Regions from separate parts of the Homo sapiens genome. Here region 2 is linked to region 1. The links are contacts of gene promoters, found by promoter capture Hi-C in blood cells and fetal thymus (Javierre and others, 2016). All regions are on one chromosome and are shown on one strand. Each heading gives the region's core, a stretch centred on a gene start or on the middle of the fragment in contact. The rest is flanking DNA. Distances are from core to core; before and after follow the strand shown. Region 1 holds the start of TMEM68 (transmembrane protein 68). Region 2 holds the start of LOC105375850 (a long non-coding RNA gene).

The links. The method cuts DNA at HindIII sites, captures the fragments that hold promoters and counts their contacts. A CHiCAGO score of 5 or more calls a contact.
Region 2: a fragment that was not itself captured here is called in contact with the fragment with the promoter of TMEM68 in region 1 in 1 of 17 cell types (M0 macrophages); the score reaches 5.5 in M0 macrophages.

Annotation. Positions count from the first base shown.
Region 1 is chr8:55,768,723-55,775,141 of GRCh38, forward strand. TMEM68 (transmembrane protein 68) reads right to left here and starts at 4,656. Exons shown (of 8, transcript NM_001286657.2): 1 at 4,547-4,656. It overlaps TGS1 (trimethylguanosine synthase 1), which reads left to right and starts at 4,724. Exons shown (of 13, transcript NM_024831.8): 1 at 4,724-4,997. The coding sequence starts at 4,897. RefSeq lists enhancers at 3,558-4,061, 4,833-5,162 and silencers at 4,283-4,412, 4,503-4,692. The HindIII fragment of the contact is 10,724 bases long and covers 3,204-6,419 here.
Region 2 is chr8:56,563,042-56,569,898 of GRCh38, forward strand. It overlaps LOC105375850 (a long non-coding RNA gene), which reads left to right and starts at 2,206. Exons shown (of 3, transcript XR_928912.3): 1 at 2,206-2,246; 2 at 3,244-3,340; 3 at 3,519-3,663. RefSeq lists a silencer at 1,449-1,624. The HindIII fragment of the contact is 3,502 bases long and covers 3,019-6,520 here.

The DNA of each region.
Region 1 (6,419 bases), core at 3,406-5,905:
GTAATCTCAGCTACTCGGGAGGCTGATGCACAAGAATGGCTTGAACCCAGGAGGTGGAGAGTGCAGTGAGCCGAGATCATGCCACTGCACTCCAGCCTGGACAACAGAGTGAGACTCTGCTCAAAAAGAAAAAAAAATTAAAAATTAGCCGGGCATGGTGACATGTACCAATGATCCCAGCCACTTGGGAGGCTGAAGGGGGAGGATCACTTGAGCCTGGGAGGTAGAAGCTGCAGTGAGTAATGATCAAGCCACTGCACTCCAGCCTCAGTGAAAGAGCAAGAGACTCTGTCTTTAAAAAAAAAAAAAAAAAAAAAAAGGGCCAGGCACAGTGGTTCATGCCTGTAATCCCAGCACTTTGGGAGGCCAAGGCGGGTGGATCACTTCAGGTCAGGAGTTTGAGACCAGCCTGGCCAACATGGTAATGCCGTCTCTACTAAAAACACAAAAATTAGCCAGGCATCATGGTGCATACCTGTAGTCTCAGCTACTTGGGAGGCTGAGGCACTAGAATTGCTTGAACCCGGGAGGCAGAGGTTATATAAGCCGAGATTCTGACAGTGCACTCCAGCCTCAGGGACAGAATGAGAATCCCATCTCAAAAAAAAAAAAAAAAAAAGATAGGAGAAAATACACCCATGTTCAATGTCAACGATAATTCATCAATGGGAGTGAGAAACAGATGATGTAGGAGAGGAGATAATTGTTAGAGCTCTGTCCTTGACTAGGCCAAAGGGGACAGGATACAATGTACAAGTGGATGGCCCTGAGAAGTTTGTGCCAGATACTATTCTAAATATATCAGTAAATAAAATAGTTATCTAAGAAAACATACGAAAAACACTTACTTTCTGGCACATAGTAGGCACCTAACAAATGCTGGCTAAATATACAACTGAACTGTGTTCGTCTAAAACTTTTTTTTTTTGAGACAGAGTCTCACTCTGTCACCCAGGCTGGACTGCAGTGGCTCGATTTCAGCTCACTGCAACCTCCACCTCCCAGGCTCAAGCAGTTCTCATACCTCAGCCTCCCGTGTAGCTGGGACTACAGGCAAGCACCACTGCACCCAGCTAATTTTTGTATTTTTAGTAGAGATGGGGTTTTGCCATGTTGGCCAGGCTTGTCTGGAACTCCTGGCCTCAAGTGATCCGCCCGCCTCCACCTTCCAAAGTGCTCGGATTGCAGGCGTGAGCCACCCTGCTTGGCCTCATCTAAATCTTTAACAGAAATCTGGATCAAAACAGTATCCTAAAACCTGCTACTAGAGAACTATCAGAGGAATTTGAATAAAATGCCTTTCAGTAGATAAAATGTAGCACTTACTTTTGATAATATGACAAAGTGTCTTTAAATCTCAATGCAACCCCTTAATTGTGCAGATAACAAAAAAAGTAAACACAGAAAGCCAAGTTTGCTTGCTTAAAATTACTAAATTAATTCAGTAAAAGCCAAGAACTAAAATTAAAATCTAGTCATCTTACCTCCTGGTCTGGCTTCCAACACACTTTCTTTGATATATCTCTCTTTTTCTCTCTTGACAGAAAGAAAATATTAAGATTGCAATTTCTGTCTTCCCTATACTTCTGCCTGGCCCTTCCCCTTCCCCCTGAATTTACCTGGGGGTGTAACTGACTTCTTATCACTTTATTTTAATCCAAGAAAAATGACATGGGCCAGGGTGGCTCACGCCTGTGATTCCAACAGTTTTCGAGGCCAAGGTGGAAGGACTGCTTGAGTTCAGGAGTTTGAGACCAGCCTGGGGGCAACATACTGAGACCTTGTCTCTACCAAAAAAAGGTTCGCCAGGCATGGTGGCACGTTCCTGTAAGTTGCAGCTACTTGGAAGGCCAAGGCAGGAGGACTGCTTGAGCCCGTGGAGTGAAGACTGCAGTAAGCTATAATGATCACACCACTATACTCCAGCCTGGGCAACTGAGCAAGACCCTGTCTCGGGGGCAGGGGGGAACTCTATGTACTAGAAGATGTTTTGGGGGAAATACAATATTTTAGTTCTCAAAATTCCAGGTTATTTTCTACAGCCCCCTGCTCCTAAAAATCTAAAATAAACACAGTCTAATGCATCACATATAAAGTATCTTAATTTCCCTATCTGGAAATCACGTAACTTTTGTAAAAACAAGTAGACAAGGCCACGCGCGGTGGCTCATGCCTGTAATCCCAGCACTTTGCGAAGCAGCGGCAGGAGGATCACCTGAGGTCGGGAGTTCGAGACCAGCCTGACCAATGTGGAGAAACCCTGTTTCTACAAAAAATACAAAATTATCCAGGTGTGGTGGCGCATGCCTGTAAACCCAGCTACTCAGGAGGCTGAGGCAGAAAATCGCTTGAACCCAGGAGGCGGAAGTTGCGGTGAGCCAAGATCGCACCATTGCACTCCAGCCTAGGCAACAAAAATGAATCTCCGTCTCCAAAAAAAAAAAAAAGTTGACAAGCTCAAATATCACCATATTGACATTGATGGTGAGGATATGGACCTTACAGATGTTTAAAATCAGAGTATTTCAAAAACTAATAAATCAGAACAGAGAACTTTTTGGCTTTCAATAAAACCTTAAGAAAGTGTATCTATTTTAGGCTGGGCTCAGTGGCTCATGCCTATAATCCTAACACTTTGGGAGGCTGAGGCAGGCAAATCACTTGAACCCAAGAATTCAAGACCAGTCTGGGCAATATGGCAAAACCTTGTCTCTACAAAACACACACACACACACACACACACAAAATTAGGCAGGCATGGTGGCATGCCTGTAGCCCCAGCTACTCGGGGGGCTGAGGTAGGAGGATTGCTTGAGCCTGGGAGGTAGAGGTTGCTGTGAGCCGCGATCGCGCCACTACACTACAGCCTGGGTGACAGAGCAAGATCCTGTCTCAAAAAAAATAAATAAATAAATAAATAAAGTATATCTATTTTGAACACCCATTACCAGTACTTTTCCATTTTACTTTTAGTATATAAGTCACATTGAGAACATTCTGAAAATGCCAATTAAAAGATATAGTCACTGAAAAACAAGTTTTCCTGTTTCCTTTCTGCATATTTAATAATGGTTTAACAGAGATACAGCACTGTTTTACTGAATAGGACTTCTACTTCAAACCATGAATAAAGCTGCAATTTAGTATTTGTCAAGATAGCTGGTAAATCTAATCCTTTTAGCTTTAATACTTTTTTTATTTCAAGCTTTAAACTCGAGGTTCTGATACAAATTACCCTTCAAGACTTTTCTTTAATCCTAGAATGCCCAACTTCTAGCTAAAATCTTCCACTCTGTTTCATAATTACTGTTCTACCCTTATTATCGTAACCCAGCTACTCATCCCAATAATGCTGCACATCTATACTGGTATATCTGTAACCGTGCAGCACTCTTACCTTCTTGAACCAACAAAATCAGCCTATCTCCGACCTCAAAGTAGGGCAGCAGTAAGGAGGTGGGAATAAACATTTGAAAATGAATATTTCCACTAACTAGTAAATGTGGCCAAAATACTATTGAAAATACCATTCAAAATGCATGAATTTTAGCTCAGTTTTTATATAGTTCTGAAGAAGTACCAATACTATTTTGGCATTTCGTAGCACCAACCACGTCCGAAGCGCTCCAACTTTCAAGTCTGAGCTTGTCTCTGAAGAAGTTGCCCGTGCAGCCTCCATGAATACCACACACCAAATACTAACTGCTTTTTAACAGATCCAGCAACGCTGCTGTTTCCATTTTCTCCATCCTATTTATGCCCACATGAACTTTTTTCTTATTAGATAATTAGTAACTTGAAGGCAGAGACCTGTTTTACAGGCTGCAAACCCCAGGGACCGAGACAGCACTTAACGCCTACAAGGTCCAAACCGACGCCAACGATTAAGCGCACAAAGGAAAGGTGTAATATACATCATTTCGTTTAGTCCTCCCTGCAGCCTCATGTAGTAGTTACTATTAATCAACCCCATTTCACAGGTGATCAAAGGTAAGCTCAGAAAGGTGAAGTTGCCTGCCCAGGTCACAAGGTAGGACCAGGATTCCAAGCCTGATCGGTCTGGATACGAACGCTCTACCCACGCGGCTTTCCCCCTACACTCTCGGGATCACCACACACTTCCCCTTGGCTTTTACACCGGAGGCTCGACCTGGGTCCCGGAACCAGCGAAGCCACTGGGCAAGCCTAGAGGCCTCTACAGAGGCTAGAGACGCCTCGCCCCACCAGATGCATTAGGATGAAACGCGCCGAACCGAAGGTTTAGAGCGCCAGGGGAGAAGAGGGGCGGGGAGAGCAGGCTCTTTGACCCAGAGGAGGGAGGATCTCCACACCCGGCCACTCTGGCGCTGGGGCGCAACACTGAGGCCGGCGGGAAGCCGAGCCTGCCCGCGAAGAGACTGGGGATTCCGAGGCGGCTCCTGGGAGACCGGACGCGCGCGGCCTCCGCCGCTCCCAGTCCCGCCAGACCCGATGCCGGGCTGGAGAAGCGCGGGGGCCGACGCACCTCGGATAGGCGGGGGCAGGGGCAGGGGCAGCTCTCCTTTACCCTAGAGCGGCGACAGAAGCTCTTCGGGGGATCAGTGGCCAAGGGGGCGGACAGATTTGCACGGCGGATTCCTCCGAAGCAACCCGTGTGAAAGAAGCCAAGCGGCGGCTGCAGCCCGGGCCGCGATGGGGGTGACACCGCCCGTGGTCCCGCCCCTTCCCGTGGCCCCTCGGAGCCACTTCCGGCGGCAGCGTCCGGGCTAGTTCCCGGCGCGAGCGGCCGCGGGCCAGTTTCTATCTCCTCATCCAGGGCTTGCGGGCGAGGCCTGTTTTAAGTCTCCAGTAACCGAGCGGAGGCCCGGCAGGCGCGACCCGGGCTGCGTACGTCAGAGCTGCCTCCGAAGTGGTAAAATGTGCTGCGAGAAGTGGAGCCGCGTGGCGGAAATGTTTCTCTTCATTGAGGAGCGGGAGGATTGTAAGATACTGTGCCTTTGCTCCAGGGCATTTGTGGAGTAAGTAGAAAAGAGAATCTCTTCATGTTCTAGCACAGTCATTACCCAGAAATGTAGGTATTGCAAACGTGGTTGTAATTGATCCCTGAAAGCAGCCAGAACATCTGACCCTTGGGCACGGTGATGTTTAAGAAAAACAAAACCCTCAGACATGACGGAGTGGTCGCCCACTGCCATTATTTTTATGTGAAGGACTACATCTACTTGGTAGGCTGCTATGAAAAAATGTCGTAGGTGCTATATGTCATCTCATATTTGTAAATCGAGGGGACATTTAAAAATTGGGGGAAAGCGACATGTAAAATGAAATCTCTAGTAGATATGATGTCATAAAGTGAAAGTTTAAAGTTGAGTGACTTGCTTTGGTTAACGTCTTTTTTTAAACCTAAAAATCTACTTAAGCCCAAATGCACATAATTAAAACTTCAAACTAGTTGAGATAAAAGACTTAACCATATTTACATCAGTTTTTGTGATATCTTTATTTTGGGGAAATCTTTGAATCAGGTAAAAATTGCCCCACATGAAAAATAGCTAGTATGCAGGAATAATACCGCCAAGAGACTTGAATTCTAGGAATTGTTTCCTTTATATTAAATGCGTGAGTTAAACCACTTGAACCTTTTTTTCATCTCTATAACGGGTATATTTAATCTCACATGCTTATTTTGTTAGAGTTAAATCCTTGTGGAAGTGAATTTTATGTGATAGACTTTTAATATAGTTTAATATAGTAGGATTTAAGTTTGAAGGAATTCATTTTTCTCGTGTAATTTTGTGGAGTAATTTGAAAACGCAAAAAGAAGTTAAACTTGTTAAATTTAATGTAAAAAGTATTGTCGCCTTTTTAGTCAGGCATGCATGTAGTCATACAATCATTCAGAAAATGTTTTTTGTGCTCTTGTATATCAAGTATGCTGGTAGGCACTGAGGTACAAGACATTCTGTCCTTACATGTATTGAGTTTACTTCCTAGCAGAGAAGATCAATATTAAGATAACTGGTTACATTATTACTTGGTTGATTATAGTTATAAGTGCTATGAGAGAGAAGTGCAGGATGCTGTGAAAACAAATAACTTTCCAAGGGTCACAGAGGTTTCTTTGAGGAAGTAGCTTTTGGAAAGAGGTCTAAGGGGGATAAATTGGGGTGAGTTTCAGTGGGAGAAAGCGTTCTCTGCAGGCTGAACTCAGTAAAGGCCTTGAGGGAGCAAAAGAAAGCCTGGGAAACTGAACAAAATGGCTGGGAGGGAGGGCACGGTGGTGCACACCTGTAATCCCACCACTTTAGGAGGCCGAGGAGTGAGGATCACTTGAGCCCGGAAGTTGGAGACTAGCCTGGGCAACATAACAACACCTCATCTGTACTGAAATTTTTTTTTAAAATTAGCCAGCTGTGGTGGCACATGCTTGTAGTCCCAGC
Region 2 (6,857 bases), core at 3,520-6,019, 790 kb after region 1:
TCTAAGGAGAACCCCCTGTAACTGATGGCACAGAGCTCAGTGAAGGCAGCGCCATGGGCAGTTAACAAATGAACGATTAGCAGGAACCTAGAAGAGGAAAAACTGATTGCTGGGAGTCAGCACCAGTTGTCTCAGAAAAAAAATCTTTCCAGGCTGGGCGCGGTGGCTCATGCCTGTAATCCCAGCACTATGGGAGGCTGCGACAGGTGGATCACCTTAGGTCAGGAGTTCGAGACCAGCCTGGCCAACATGATGAAACCCCATCTCTATTAAAAATACGAAAATTAGCCGGGCGTGTTGGTGCATGCCTATAATCCCAGCTACTCGGGAGGCTGAGGCAAGAGAATCACTTGAACCCACGAGGTGGAGGTTGCAGTGAGTGGAGATCGTGCCACTGCACTTCAGCCTGGGCGACAAGAGCAAAACTCCATCTCAAAAAAAAAAATCTTTCCAGAATAAACATATGTGTATGTGTGTATATGTATATATATGATTGTGGTTTGGTACAGCAGGGAAATAGTATAGCTGTGTTTAAGTAAGAACTTGGTAAATCCTTTTTGATGATATGGTTAGGTAGACTCATAAATAGGTTGTTGAAAAATTCTTGTGTAGAATCTGAATAATGGTGATGATCTCATAGAAAACAGGTGCTCCTGGTATCCTCAGTGCTAGTGAACTGGTTAAATTTAATGATGAATTTGCTTCTGCAGAGACAACTTAAAGGTTATTCATGGTCTTGCAACATTAACATTTAGACACTTCTCTACAATTTCATGTTTCTTCTTGGAGGACTTGTTGATTTAATTTAAAAAATGTCATTTACTAATGGTAAAGGTCATTACATGAAAGGAAAATGATAAATCTCTAATATTCACTAATGAAGGATTTATGGTAAATATCACACACTTAGAATTATCTTCAAAGTAAGAATAACGCTTGTTTGGCCTTTTATTAAAGCTCCAACTATCAAGGCTAATATTTTATCAATCTTTTGTATTTTGATTTCCATTCTACTTCACTGCATGTCCATGTTCAGTGTATTAACTTGCTAAAAATGGAATTATAGGTGTCTTTAGGGATAAATATATAATTTTTGGCAGATTGAAGACATTTGCTAATAGTGAAGTCTTCCTCATTTAGCAGTGAAGTCTTCCTTTGTTTGAACAGTGTGAGGCCTCAGGGGTTGAACTGTAATTGATTCAGGCTAATCATATTAACCCCATTTGTTTTGCCAGTGATTTTTTTCCAGGTTTGTGCATGTGACCCAGTTCTGGCCAATGAGTCCAAATGGGAACTCTATTGGGGATTCTGGGAAAGATTTTTCTCCTTGACAGAAGAGAGAGTGGGGCAAAGAGAAAGCTCTTTTTGCCTTCTTTCCTCCCTCCCTTTGGACAACTGCTATGTGAGCATATGATGACTATAAAGAAACAAGCCCTGCTGGGTGCAGTGGCACACGCCTGTAATCCCAGCACTTTGGGAGGTTGAGGTGGGCGGATCACAGGTCAGGATGTTGAGACCATCCTGGCCAACATGGTGAAACACCGTCTCTACTAAAAATACAAAAATTAGCTGGGCGAGGTGACGCACGCCTGTAGTCCCAGCTACTTGGGAGGCTGAGGCAAGGGAATTGCTTGAACCTGGCAGGCGGAGATTGCAGTGAGCCAAGATTGCACCACTGCACTCCAGCCTGGGTGACAGAGTGAGACTCCGTCAAAAAAGAAAAAAAAATAAAAGCCCAAGGACAAAAGCCCACACGCTATGGATCATGAGGAAGGGTGAAAGTGTGGAGTCCTTGGTGGCATTGTTGGTGTGCCTGCCCAACCCTAGCACTGCCTGCCTCTGAATCCATATTAAGTAAATGGTGTGTTAAGCCCTGTTGTGTGCCATTATTTGCCGAGGAACAGATCCTAACTGATGCACAGGTGCTATAGTTTTAATGTCCCCTCCAAAACTCATGTTGAAATGTAATTGCCATTGTAACAGTGTTGAAAGGTGGGACCTTTAAGAAGTGATTAGGTCATGAGGGACTCTGTTTTTGTGAATGGATTAATGCCATTATTGTGAGGCTGGGTTCCTGATAAAAATGGATGAAGTTCCAGCCCCCAACCTCTCTCTGACTCATGCACTCTCGCTTCGGGCTCTCTCACCATGTGATGCCTTCTGTCATGGTATGATGCAGCTAGAAGGCCCTCACCAGATGCAGCCCCTTAATCCTGGACTTCCTGGCCTCCAGAACTGTGAGCCAAGTAAATATCTTTTCTTTATAAATTACCCAGTCTGAGGTATTTTGTTATAGCAGCAGAAAATAGACTAAAACGACAGGTATCCCTAACTTTTGGTAGGCCCCAGAACAATTTCTTGTAGTTGCTGTGGTATAAGTTCATGTTAAAAACCTGCAAGTTCTGAGACAGTGCATCAGTTCTCCCAGAAGTCAATGCAGCTTGCAGGTGTTGCATGGAGAAAGGAAAAGCACAGCTTGGCCATTGAGAGATTGTTTTGTTTGTTTGCTTATTGTGTTTGCTTGCACATGTTATGAAAATTAAATTAATTTGAAAATCCCTTTTTGAATGGATGATTTAGAGATAATATTTCAACATAAAAAAGATATATGTGTACTGAAAGAGTAAAATGAAAAATAAATGAGATCTGACATCCTCTGTTAGTGCATTTTTTACATTTATTCTCCATTCCATTTGATGTATTAAGGCTTTTTGGCTGTGAGCTTAATGATAAGCTCACAATCTTCCCCAGGAAAAAGCAATTTGAAAGTGGTTGTGGCTGAAGGCACATTATGATGGCAGAAAATCAAATAGAACACTGACTTCCATTTAAGATTGTCAGCTTGATGAATAGAGTGATGTTGACTTAAAGCAGACAGGACCTGACAGAGACGGTCTATTCCCAACAGGTGGAAGGCATGTGGAATGATTAAATAAAACATATTTGGTCACTCTATCCTAGAAACTATGTATTTCACAACTTTTGAACATACAGAATTAAAACAAACTAATACCTAGAAGCTTTCAAGCCAAATCCTCTTTAAATAATGTCCATTTTGATTAAGTTTGTAATCATGTACATATTTTCTCCTTTCTTCTTTGATGGAAATTTTGATTCTTTGCAAAATTTTTTACCTAATTTATTATTCAAAAATAATATGCTTTTTTGTTAACAATTTTATTTTCTAATTTGGGATGCAATCCTAATCTTGTGTGATTAACCTTGTACTTTGTGATTTTTCAGATATTATATTTGTGGATTTTCATAGTTCTTGACTTCTTATACAATCGGAGAATTAGTGGAGGCTGGTTATAAGTAGTAAGCATGACTCAAGTTTAAGGTATGAACCCTGCAGACTTACCAGTCAAACAAGATTGGAAAAATATAGGAGTCAAACATTTAAACTATTAATATTCACAGTTTCTAATGTATTTATTTAAACATTTCTTTCTCCCTCCTGCCCCTGCTTCTCTTACCTCTCTTCCTTTACGTAAAAAAAATTTTTATTGAATTCTTAGTGTGTGTCAAACTGGAGATGGAGGAATAAGAAACACTTGGCAACTTCAAAGCTCTCACTTTCTTCTGGAGGAAGAGACAGATAAGTGTAGGTATATGCAAAATGACACTCGCGATAGACTTAGTAAGCATGCTGGCAGAAGTTTGAAGAGCTTCACAAGATCATGGAGGAGGAACTTTGCTTAAGGAAGTCAGAAAACATAGATGAAAATGATGATTACATGGTTTCATTTATTTATACCAAAGAGTGTTACATACTTGGCATCTGTCTATTTAAACATTTGAGAGGAAGATAAAGATGAATGAAGACTAACTTCTGAAAGACTAAGTTCACCGGAGAAAACAATTAATGGGTTAAATATGTTTTATTTGTATTGAAGTATCTCTGTTTCAATGCAAGAAACAGAAGAAAGGGTGTGGGCAACGTGGGGATTCTGTAAGTTGGACATTTGAGGGCACAGAGGAACGGCTTATACAAAGGAACATACGTAAAGTGAGTAACACACACCTGGCATCATGGAAGAGGCCATGAAGAGGGATGAAATATGAGTAAAGACTACAGCTCGTGGTATGAAACCATTGTTTAAATACTGTTTTCAAAAATTTTTATGTTTCAAAGTTTTTATTATGGACAATCTCAAATAGGTGCAAAAGTAGAGAGAATAGTTTAAGGTCTAATAGTATTCGTATAATAATAGATAACTCTGCCCCCATCAAGTGCTCATCATCTGACTTCAACCAGTCTTATTTGATGCATACTCCCCTTCCTCCACCACAGGATTATTTTGAATTCCAGACATCATAGAATTAATTGCAGCTATAAATGTCTTTGTATTTATCTTTATAAGGTAATTCTTTTTTTCCTAAAACCATAAGATGCAAACATTATCTTATCTGAATTATTAATAATGAGTTCTAAATATTATCAGATTATCTAGTTAGTGTTCAAATTGTCACATGCATTTTTTTTTTCCAGTTGCTTAGTTTGAATCAGGATCTGATATGGTTTGGCTGTGTCTGCACCCAAATCTCATCTTGAATTGTAGCTTCCATAATTCCCACACGTCATGGGAGGGACCCTGTGGGAGGTAATTGAATCATGGGGGTGGGTCTTTCCCATGCTCTTCTCTTGATAGTGAATAAGTCTTATGAGACCTGATGGTTTTATAAAGGGGAGTTCCCCTGCACAAGCTCTCTTGCCTGCCACTTTATAAGATGTGCCTTTGGTCCTCCTTTGCCTTCCGCCACCATTGTGAGGCCTCCCCAGCCATGTGGAACTGTGAGTCCATTAAACCTCTTTTTCTTTATAAATTATTACCCAGTCTTGGGTATGTCTTTATTAGCAGTGTCAGAACAGACTAATACAGGATCCAAACAAGGTTCACTGATTATATCTGGTGAATATGTAGCTCTAATCTGTTTTCATCTACAGGTGTCCACATCCTGACATTTTTGGTTCCCAGCAATTCATTTATGAAAGAAAATAGGTTGTCATGTAGCATTCACTACATTCTAGACTTTGATGATTAGTATGATGAGTGTAAAATCATGCAAATATACAATTAACATGCTCTTCTAGATTGTAGATAGATCTAGATGCCTAATCAGATTCTATTCAATTTTTTTGGCATTGATACTTTCCAGGTGGTGGTGTGTATTTCTGAGAGGAGGCACACAATGTCATATTTGGTAATGTTAAGATTGATCAATGAGTTCCTAGTGTATCAGCCTGATTCATCCACTGTGATCTTACATATCAACTTTTCATCTTATGGTTTTAGTAACTAAAAACCATGATTGCCTAAGTCCATTATTTCATTGGAGGCTGATAATGGCAATATTCCAATCCAGAGTAGATAGTAAATCCCACCAAGATGTGATTCTGAATGGCTGGATTCATGGTCCAGAGTGCAGCTAGTGAACAACTCTGTGTGGCCTGAAAAACTGGGATTTTTCTTTTTTTTTTCTTTTTCCTTTTTTTTTTTTTTTTAAGATGGAGTCTCGCTCTGTCTGAAGTGCAGCGGTGCAATCTCGGCTCACTGCAAGCTCCACCTCCCGGGTTCACGCCATTCTCCTTCCTCAGCCTCCCGAGTAGCTGGGACTACAGGCGCCCGCCACCACGCCTGGCTAACTTTTTTTTTTGGTATTTTAGTAGAGACGGGGTTTCACCGTGTTAGCCAGAATGGTCTTGATCTCCTGACCTCGTGATCCACCCGCCTCAGCCTCCCAAAGTGCTGAGATTACAGGCGTGAGCCACTGTAATTAAAAGTAGAGTAATTTCTACTTATATAGTGGCAGGCAAGAGAGCTTGTGCAGGGGAACTCCCCTTTATAAAACCATCAGGTCTCATAAGACTTATTCACTGTAGAATCATATGTAGAAGAAAAGTATGCATTTCAATACCCTTCATAGATTCAGTATCTCCTTAGCGTAGTCCATTAGTAGCATTTGAAGCATAATTCCACATCTGAATTTCTGCCAGTGAGATGTGCTGCTGTTGTTAGATGATTTGGTAGTGTTCCTCCATTCATTCCTACCAGCTCCTGCTTAAGTATTATTTGTTTACTATATTCGTGTATTTTCTTATTTTTAATTAATGTACTTATTTTTGGAAGAAAATACCACTGAGGAGCATGGCAATAGTATCTCATGTGGCAATATTAGAATACCAGAGCCGATAACATTCCGAGCATCCCTCTGTGAATGCATTGGTGAAAACAGCCATCCCACAGTGATATGTCATTGAACACCGCCTTGTTAGCCTACCTTGAGCCTTCCTAGATGGCCACATATAATAGATTTCAATAATATGTGCAAATTGGTGTTTGACATTTGTAGTCACAAAGGGAAAACATTCAGAGTGACTCATGCTGCTTTTTAATGCTCTGCTGTCACTGTCTTGAAATTCTTTTAAGCTCTTTTGCTACGCCACTAGCATATAGCATTTGAGATGCCTCATGAGTCCAGAATTCCCATGGACCCACGACAGGTAGGATTTCAGAGAAGCTTAGAGTGAGGACAAAGTAAGCTGGGGCATTGACTCTCCCCAAAGGCTAGTCTCTGTTTGAGCCAGGACTTCCTTTGAATGCAGAAAGAAGCAAATGGTTTGCATTGACTCTCCCCAAAGGCCAGTCTCTGTTTGAACCAGGACTTCCTTCGAATGCAGAAAAAAGGAAATGGTTTTCTAAGACCAACAGACCCTTTGATATCCTTTTTTACTGGTGTTACTTCTTTGTATTAGCCATCACTTATGCTGACAAGGATGACATGGGGTGATGATATTGTTCTTTTCCCCTTCAATCCTTCCTTACTTATCCATAGCCTAAGGTAGAGTGTTGGTA